2 separate regions of the Homo sapiens genome follow, and region 1 is linked to region 2. Evidence: promoter capture Hi-C in 16 types of primary human blood cells and fetal thymus (Javierre and others, 2016). All regions are on one chromosome and are shown on one strand. The core of a region is centred on a gene start or on the middle of the fragment in contact, and the rest is flanking DNA. Distances in the headings are between cores, read along the strand shown.

Region 1 (4,762 bases), core at 996-3,495, 3.2 Mb after region 2:
GACAATGCAGCAAATGTAGCTAAACACACATTAACATTTGTTAATGGTGGATGATTGATATGGGACTGTTTATTTATTATTCTTTTTATTTTACTATTTCTATGTATTTTCTATTTGTTTATTTTATTTATTTTACTCTGTAATCTACTATGAATTGGTACCATGCAAAATTTCAAAAAGGAGAAGAGACCCTCAAGGTGCAGTTTATGTTGAAAGAATGGAGAAGAATGGACCCAAACCTACCGGATGGCGGAAGGGCAGGGTCGGGGAGGAGCCTCCTCACTCACACGCGTCCACAGCCTGTAACCATCGCTCAACAGGAAGAAAAGGGAAGGACTATAGGTCCGCCTGGGACATATTTAAGATGCAGAAATCAAGAAAATGTGACAACCCTGGAAGAGGAAGCAAAGGTGGTGCTAGCTGAGGAGACAACAAGGGAGCAGTGGGGATTTAAGAAGATCCCAGTCTCCAGGGTAGAGGACGCATCCCTAGGGGCCCAGACCCTGGGGCAGGTGCCACTAGGAACAGAGCACGGTGGGAGGCTGGGAAAGTGTCCGCCCCTGCCCTTTTCCAGGGAGGAGCTGGAAAAGAATGCAGGCAAAAGTCGGGGAGGAAACACTCATTCCTAATGAAATGAAATCTGTAACATCAAATAAAAACAGGAGATGAGCGCGATGCTGGGACAAGCACACTGGCCTGAGCCAGGGGTGTCCATAGGGCGGGGGACAGGGAAAGCGAGGCACGGGGTGGGAGACAGGGAAGGCGTGGGGGACAGGGAAGGCACAGCGCCGGGGACAGGGAAGGCACAGCGCGGGGGTGCAGGGGCTGTGTGGGCAGGGAGGCGAGCTGAGAAACAGCAGCCCCAAGGGCCGACCCTGGGACTGCCAGTGTGTGGGACACCCTGTCTATAGTCCACTTCCTTTTTTTAAGAACCTGGATCAAGACACACGAAGAGCTGGCCAGGAGCTTGGAGGAGGGCAGCGGGGGCGGCGTTGCAGGCTCTCTGCAGCCCCCGGCCGCGCGCACCTGGCGGCCGCGCGCGCTGCGCTCTGGATGCCGCGTGAAACCGCAGGGCGCAAAGCAGGGAGGTGGGGAGGAGGCTTTGGAGACCACAGGTGCTGGGAAGTGGAGCCGCCAGGAGGCCTGGGCCAGGTGACAAGGCCAGGCTGTGTGAAGTGGTGAGATCCTAGATGTATCTTGAAGGCGACAGACGCTATGAGGGTTGCAGGTGGAGTGGGAGAGCAAAGGGGGCAAAGAGGACCCCAGGGTTCTGGCCCGAGGCACTGTGATGGCGGAGATGTCATCTCCTAGACAGGAAAGGATACCGAGGGACAGAGAGCTCTGCTTCTCACCTTCTCTGGTCTCTGAAGCAACTTAAATCCATGTGCAGGCAAGTGAGATTCTTGTTTTATACTTGTCTGACAAAGAGCAGGGGAAGGCCAGAAAGGAAACATAGACAGTGGAAATAATAGTCATGTTTTAGGGGAACATACGGAAAACCAGTATTTGAAAGGGACGTTTTCTACCTCAGTATCCTTACAAACATCACATTTTCAGCCAAGTGGTGAAAAATCTACATTTATTTTTTTCCCTCCGAGAACTGGTACTGGCATTAGGCCCTGTTTATCAACTCTTCAGGATCTATGTGTATACTACTCCCATTGTAAGAATCGAACACTCTGGGAAAAAAATTCATCAAAGCTTTAAAACCAAAACCCTCCTCTGATGGGTTCCAGGTTTGCATTAGAGATCATATGATAAGAATATTTTTAAAACTATTTTTTTGTTGTTGTTTTGAGACAGTTTCACTATTGTTGCCCAGGCTGGAGTGCAATGGCACGATCTCAGCTCACTACAACCTCCGCCTCCCGAGTTCAAGTGATTCTCCTGCCTCAGCCTCCTGAGTAGCTGGGACTACAGACACCTGCCACCACGTCCAGCTAATTTTGTATTTTTAGTACAGATGGGGTTTTGCCATATTGGTCAGGCTGGTCTCAAACTCCTGACCTCAGGTGATCCACCCACCTCGGCCTCCCAAAGTGCTGGGATTACAGGCATGAGCCACCATGTCTGGCCTATTTTTAATGGTCAAATAGGTATGGAAAGAACCTTAGAATGATTTTTCTAGATTACACATTAAGGTCTATTTACTTTCCAATAGTTGATAGGAGTTTTATATACACAAGGCTCTGAATCAGAAATGGAGAGTTGAGTGGCCATAATAACATATTGTTATTTGTTGTTGATGACACAGTCATCAAGGGAAACAATGCAGTAATGCCATAAAGTTGTCATATCCTTTGATTCACGAATACATTTGCAGGTGTCTTTCATAAAGAAAACCTCCCAAATGAAAAAAGGCTTTTGGGATAAAGTGACTTTCACATTACTTATACCAGAATAAAAGAAGCAATGAGCAACAGGGCCGAGCCAACCTTCATCGAGTGCTAGCTGTGAGCTCCTTCCTGTGCTTGGCACTCATTTAATCCTCATAAGAATGCTGGGTGCTGGTGATTATGAGCTCACGGTACACACGGGAAGACAAGGCTCTAAGAGGTCACAAACTGTATGTGAATAATTCAGAATCCAAATTCAAGCAAACAAAAACAAAAGCCACGCTTTTCCCTTTACACAGAAGATCATACAACCTTTAAAAGAACTATGCAGATACTGAGAAAGGCTCAGGAGAACAAGGAACAAGAAACTCTGTTAGACTTGTAGGCACTGGACATGATTCTCCTACTCTACTCTTAAAACCTGCCATATGCAATTTATTTTGTTTTGAATATAAAGCTTTTTTTTTTTTGAGATGGAGTCTCACTCTGTCGCCCAGGCTGGAGTGCAGTGGCGCAATCGAGGCTCACTGCAACCTCTGCCTTATAAAGCATTTTCTAAAGGTACAAGCTAAATTTTAAAAATATCTCTACACAACTGATGTATAACAAAAATTAGTTCTACCTCATAAACACGTGGCTCAGCCCTCGGAACACATTTTCCTGTTCTCAACTGATGAACACTCCAAAAACAGAACAGATTTGAGCTTTTCCAGGCCCAGAAAAGCTCGCGAGGGGATTTGCTGTGTGTGTGACAACACTGCCACCCTGTGGCAGCACAGCTCCACACATGCTTTGGGCCGCATTTGCAAGTTCTCTGTAATCCCCCTGGAGACCCGGATCAGCTGGGTGGAAATGCAGGCTCTCTGTAAGCATAGGACTCAGGGCAGCTGAAATTATGGAGTTTCCTTTAAAATGTAGCTTTTAATAACTTTTTCTGAAAATTTTATTTTACTGGTGGGCTTCCCTGTAAATGCCTGCCTCCAATACTGCAGAGGCTTCCATCAGAAACAACGCCACTCAACACGAATTCTGGAAACTTTTTTAGGGCTTTTGCTATGGAAATCACTTCAAATGTAAGCTCCGTCCATCTGTGAAACACTATAATGACACTATTTCTGTCACTGCCTGAACAGGGCAAATGGACAAAATGTCTCCAGACAGGTTTATTTTGTTGTTTGCTTGTTTTATAAGGCAGTGATTTTTAACTCTTTTACCAGAAGAACTTTAACTTTATGGTATCAAGAAATGCAGAGATATCTGATGAAGCATGTAGTAATACCTTTAGATTGGTCAAATTTATAGAATTTGGATTTTTTAAAAAACCAAGAAACCAAGAAGCAGGGCCCATAAAAGGCCAGTTACTTTCAAAAGTTCATTCTTCAGAGAAAGGCCTGCTAATGACTGGTCTGTTGTCCTGGTGAATAACAGAACCAGGATTAGAACCCACGTCACTTTACTCCTACATCAGAACATTTGCACTTTATCAGACTGATATAATAATTTCTTTTCCATTTTTGTGTGCTGAATTGCAAATTAACTCAGGTACCTTGTCTCATCCGTTAGCACAGTTTATCACTGCTGTTTGTGTGACTTAGGAAACAGAGACCCGAGAGCTAACTCACACCTTATCATTAACCGGCATCCACAACTGACTATGTGACCTCCCCGTGTCTTGGAGTCCAGATGTGTGGGATGACGTTAACTGCAGTGTAATCTGTTCCATGCTTTCACAGCTACACAGGCTGAGTTTGAGGAAAATCAATACTGACCATGTCCCCACTAAGCCAGAGTCCCCCGCAGGTGTCCAGTGCAGCCCAGTTTACAGCCTGAGGCACACTTTCTTTCACAGATACAGAAAGGAGTGTTTTCTGGAAAATGTAAAATTCCAGGAAAACTACTTAAAGTTAGTTGAAAGATGAGAATATTTGCTATGATTCAAGCGCCCTTTGATTAAGACAGTGAAGATATATCTTGGAACAGAGTAAACTTCAGTTTCTAAGAAATTCACTAACTTTTCCAGAGAAGATCAAATTTCTTTGACCATCTACATTAGGATTTTTTTAATGCAAATCTATTCTCATAGAGTCTTCAAGTTACAGACATAATAAACCACTTACATTTTCTCAAGAAAAAATAATACATAATAGTATCTGCAAACTTTCTGGAGGGCTCCGGTCAGGTTTACTCACCATTTCAGAACATTTCCTATGAGTGTCAGATGAGCTATATAATTTCTAATCGCTACAATGAACCTACAAAGTGGGCAGTTTAGCAGATGAGGAAAGTGAAGATAGGTTCTGCATGCTGGGCCAGAATTGAAAGCTCGGCTTTAACACCCCAATGATGTAGGCTTGCCCTCGGCCTCCGCCAGGCTAAGCCTCTGTGCTCATCAGAGATTCACTATGACTTGAAGCTGAAGCTGTTAC
Region 2 (5,343 bases), core at 1,844-4,343:
CATTTTCTACATATAGGATGGCATGACATTTCTATCATATGCAACATTTTTAAGATGCTTTATGTAAATAACAAAAGGCAAATAATCTAATGTTTTCGTTAAGTATCCTTTAAAAATAAAATATACTGCAAGACTACAACTAAAACTAGAGAATTCAAGTCATGCCATTTAATGTGGGGTGTACAGCAGGACTGCAGGCATCACCTACATCAGGATCTGGGACCACCGGTTCTTGTAAGTCCTTCCACAATTTCCTAGGAATCACCTTTATGGGGATGTCATGGGTCACAATGCGGCTACTGCTTGACATAGATAACTGCCAAGAAAAGAATTTAAAAATATTTTTATGTTGTTAATATTAAGCAACAACAAAACAAACCCGAAGACCCGGGACAAAAAAGTTGAAATACCAAATCTAAGTGGAATGCTGTCAGTTTATTCACTCAAAAGCCATTCGACCAATATTGATGGTGCCAATATTTATGGAACAGACTCTGGGTACTTCCAGGAACTGGGAAGTGTGGTGATAAGACAAAAAGGTCCTTAGTGTTCCAGTGGAACAAACAGATCAATAAAAATGCAAACAAATGAAACTGTATGAAATGCTCATTATAGCCGTGAGAAAGCACTCCACAGAGACCAGGGTGAGTGTGGGGGAGTTTCCTTAGACTGAGGAGGTGACATTTCAGATACCACCAAAAGCAGGAGAAGCAGCAGCCATGGGAAGACAAGAACAAGGGGACAGGGTTTCAGGCTGGGGAAACAGCACATGTAAAGCCGTGAGGCAGAAAGAAGCAAGCCTGCTATGTTGACGCAACCAAGAGAAGGCCATTCTTTGGGCATAGGACACTCAGAGTGCTGCAGTTTCTAACAGTTAAAAGGCAAACTATATTTATTTCTAGGGGCTCCTATGAGACTCACAGACCAAAATATCTTGCACTTTTGGACAAAAAGTATTATACGTTACTATCTTGCTTTTCCTTAAGCAATAGAAAAAACATACCAAACTTATACTGTGACATGAAATGCCCTAATTAGCTCTGAGAACTGCCTGACTGCAAAGAGTTGAGAGTTATGAAGAAAAGCTGGGCTGGGCGCCGTGGCTCATGCCTACAATCGCAGCACTTTGGGAGGCCGAGGTAGGTGGATCACTTGACGTCAGGAGTTCGAGACCAGCCTGGCCAATATGGTGATACCCCGACTCTACTAAAAAAATACAAAAATTAGCTGGGTGTGGTGGTGGGTGCCTGTAATTCCAGCTACTCAGGAGGCTGAGGCATGAGAATCGCTTGAACCCGGGAGATGGAGGTTGCAGTGAGCCGAGATCGCGCCACTGCACTCCAGCCTGGGTGATAGAGAGACTCCGTCTCAAAAAAAAGGAAATACGAACCTCATTCTATGAGTAGGAAGAGCAACTCTGGATTGTATGTATGCGCATGAGTTTGTGTATTTGTGTGTTTGGAGGACAGCTGTGCACTAAATTCATCTGGCAGTAGCATATAAAACATACGTGTACTGAAGAACGAGGGGCCATTTAAAGGTTATTATAGCAGATGAGGCAGGGTGGGAGTGGGGAGAAAACATGTCAAAGGTGAAAATGGATAGAGAAACCATGATTTCTAGACAAGGTGACAATACCACTACAAGAAACAGAGAGGCTGGAAGTTTCACGGCTTGGAAAAAGCAGCATTCTAGCTGAATGCATATGATAACAACACAATTTTAAAATGAGGAGGAACTGACTCTAATGCAAAATATAGTTATGGACCAGATCTTTAAATTTAAATAAACCAAACAGCTTTCAACAGTATTTATTGTTAAAAAGGCTAGGCTAACTATGTCTATTCCTTCGAGGCCAAGACTTCTGTGTTAGAAACCCTGACTCTCCTACTCACCAGCTCCACGGAGACCGTGAGGCAGGGAAAGTGTTTATTAGTCAGTTTGATTTTCAAAGCCCTGGCATTCTGGGCAGTCTTCAAGGCTCGAGATAAGTTTTCCGATGTTAGCTCTAAATAAATCTCATTGTTTTCTGCAGAGACACCCTCCATTTGAAATTCGTTGAAGAAGTTCTCCTAAGGGAAAAAAAATGAGGGATGAGGGAGGGTATATGTGATCTTTCCAGTGACAATCTGCAGAGTGTGCAGGCCTCTCAGAAGCTTTTGCTCACCTGTTCCAGCTCACACCACATGCTCACTCCTCCATTAGCCAGCTTGTCACAAAGGATGAAGTTAAGCTTATCAGGGCTGATGCGGAGGGTGCAGGTTTTGGCAAGCTTGGCTATCATGTTACTGATTCCTAAAGCAGGGGTTAAAATAAGGAATTACTAAAATGCACATTATGTATCCTAGAGACCAACTTATTTTGCAGAATTTCTTGTTCATCAACTTCTCGGTGGAAAAATAACCACTTAACGTTGGTATCACACTGGAAAGTACTTTAATACCCCTGATGTCACGCAATTCTCCCAACAAACTAGGGGAGATGTACAGCACACATCATCAGTGTTCAAATAAGAAAACAGGCACCTACCAGTCATTCATTCATTCAACATGGATTTATTGACTACTAGGTACTGCAATACACAGTTAAATGCAAGGTTAGGCACTGTCAGGGTGGAGGGACGAATGGGGCCTTGAAGGTATGTCAATGCCTGATAAAGCCGTCTATGGGAGCAGTGGCCGCTTTTTTTTAAAGCCACGTGATCGGAATCAAGTTTCAGAAACGTCCCTTGAAAGCCGCCTTCATCCCCACAAGTGCCCTCCGACCCGCCCCGCGCCCTCCCGGCCCCACCCTCCCGCGGCCTACACCAGCACCCCCATCCCGGCCCCATCCTCCCGCGGCCCCTTCCGGCGCCCATCCCCGTTCTGATCCTCCTGCGCGGTCCCCACCGCGCGCTCACTGCTTCCTTCCGTTCCTCCCTCGCTCCTCTCCGGCCTCCCTGCTCACGTGTGAAGTGGTTCAGACAGGCCCCGTCCACGATCTTGGCCCGAAACTTCATGGCCGCGGATGGCGCAGCCGCGGCGGGCCTCTGTGGGTAACAGAAAAGCGTCGCGCCCTGAGTGTCCCCGCCCGGAAACACGGCAGCGCGAACAGTGGTTCCGCCCGGCTCGGGCTACGCGACTCTTACCAGGGTTATCTCCGGGCCACGCCCCGGAGGAGGTGGGGCTAGGGGGTCACGCCCTAGAGGAGGTGGGGTCACGGGTCAAGGATCACAGGTCACGCCCCGGGGGAGGTGGGGGTCCCAGTCTCCGGGTATGCCTCCGCGCTGCCGGGTAATGGTGGGATCTACTTTTAGTGAGGCGGAGGCTTCAAGCCCCAGATTCGGGGAGGTTGTTCTGAGAATTCACGTTTTGAAAGAATTTTGTGACACCTATTTCAAGTGTTATTTTAAAATATCCAAATAAAATTAATCGTTTATAAAGGTTAAACAATATTATCTTAAATATACCTAAGGTAGAGCAGCTTTAAACCCTCCAGCCTCAGATGACGGTACTGGTACTTTGGTATTGAAGCATCTTGGTGGATTAAGGTTCTGAAAATTGTTTCAAATGACTTCTAAAAAAATTGAACATATTACTGGCTAGTTGGTAAAGTCGGGAAGCTTAAAGAACACTGACGTTAAGTGATAATTCTGCAGTTTGCCTCAAGACGAACTTTATTACATCCGATAAAATTCTTATTAGCATAAATAATGTCATTAGGATTTTTTTTAAAGGAAAAATTTTAAAGGGGGAAATGAAGCAACAATTGTATCTAATTTGGTTTTTCAAAGACTAAAGATTATCTGTGTTAACAATTGTTATTTTTAATGTCCTTTGCAAATAGACTAGAACCTTGTCTTTAACTTGACACATAGAATCAAGATAATGATAATGCAGATGATGATGATGATGATTTTGAGACGGAGTCTGGCTCTGTCGCCCTGGCTGGAGTGCAATGGCGTGATCTTGGCCCACTGCAACCTCCACCTCCCGGGTTCGAGGGATTCTCCTGCCTCAGCTTCCCAAGTAGTTGGGATTACAGGCACAAGCTACCATGCCCGGCTAATTTTTGTATTATTAGTAGAGACGGGGTTTCGCCATGTTGGCCAGGCTGGTCTCGAACTCCTGACCTCAGGTGATCTGCCCACCTCGGCCTCCCAAAGTGCTGGGATTATAGGCGTGAGCCACCGCGCCAGGCCCAGATAATTTTCAAAGACACATGCACACATATGTTTATTGTGGCACTATTCACAATAGCAAAGACTTGGAACCATCCCAAATGTCCATCAATAATAGACTGGATAAGGAAAATGTGGCACATATACACCATGGAATACTATGCAGCCATAAAAAAGGATGAGTTCATGTCCTTTGCAGGGACATGGATGAAGCTGGAAACCATCATTCTCAGCAAAATATCACAAGGACAGAAAACCAAACACCGCATGTTCTCACTCATAAGTGGGAGTTGAACAATGAGAACACATGGACACAGGGAGGGGAATATCACACACTGGGGCCTGTTGGGGGGTGGAGGCCTGGGGGAGGGATAGCGTTAGGAGAAATACCTAATGTAAATGATGAGTTGATGGGTGCAGCACACCAACATGGCACATGCATACCTATGTAACAAATCTGCACGTTGTGCACATGTACCCTAGAACTTAAAGTGTAATAATAATAAAAAGGTGCAAAATACAAAAATTGCAGTTTTTGCCTATTTTAAGACTATAACATGAAGCAAAATTCTAATCTTCATTGTCATATGCGAGTGTTTGCCAAACCAAACTTAATAGATCACTTTCAAAGTTATGCCAACAGGCAGGGCAGGATGGCTCTCTCCTGTAATCCCAGCATTCTGGGAGGCCGAGGCGGGTGGATCATCTGAGGTCAGGAGTCTGAGATCAGCCTGGCCAACATGATGAAACCCCGTCTCTACTAAAAATACAAAAATTAGCCCGGCGTGATAGCTTGTGCCTGTAATCCCAACTACTCAGGAATCTGAGGCAGGAGAATCACTTGAACCCAGGAGGCGGAGATTTCAGTGAACAGAGGTCTGCCACTGCACTCCAGCCTGGGCGACAGAGCGAGACTCCGTCTCAAAAAAAAAAAAAAATGTTGGCATAACTCTTTTTTTTTTTGGAGACGGAATCTCGCTCTGTCGCCCAGGCTGGAGTGCAGTGGCGCAATCTCGGCTCACTGCAAGTTCCGCCTCCCGGGTTCACGCCATTCTCCTACCTCAGCCTCCCGAGTAGCTGGGACTACAGGCGCCCGCCACCACGCCCGGCTAATTTTTTGTATTTTTAGTAGAGACGGGGTTTCACCGTGTTAGCCAGGATGGTCTCGATCTCCTGACCTCGTG

Evidence for each region. The method cuts DNA at HindIII sites, captures the fragments that hold promoters and counts their contacts. A CHiCAGO score of 5 or more calls a contact.
Region 1: a fragment that was not itself captured here is called in contact with the fragment with the promoter of HUS1 in region 2 in 2 of 17 cell types (non-activated CD4 T cells and naive B cells); the score reaches 7.1 in non-activated CD4 T cells.

What each region holds. Positions count from the first base shown.
Region 1 is chr7:51,158,116-51,162,877 of GRCh38, forward strand. The region is part of intron 5 of COBL (cordon-bleu WH2 repeat protein); the gene reads right to left. Among named protein-coding and RNA genes, the nearest start is that of COBL, 160 kb to the right of the region's middle. RefSeq lists an enhancer at 2,917-3,211. The HindIII fragment of the contact is 1,092 bases long and covers 1,700-2,791 here.
Region 2 is chr7:47,976,522-47,981,864 of GRCh38, forward strand. HUS1 (HUS1 checkpoint clamp component) reads right to left here and starts at 3,094. Exons shown (of 8, transcript NM_004507.4): 1 at 2,947-3,094; 2 at 2,168-2,295; 3 at 1,896-2,072; 4 at 209-316. The coding sequence starts at 2,998. RefSeq lists silencers at 2,615-2,664, 2,745-2,804 and an enhancer at 2,875-3,164. The HindIII fragment of the contact is 1,329 bases long and covers 2,271-3,599 here.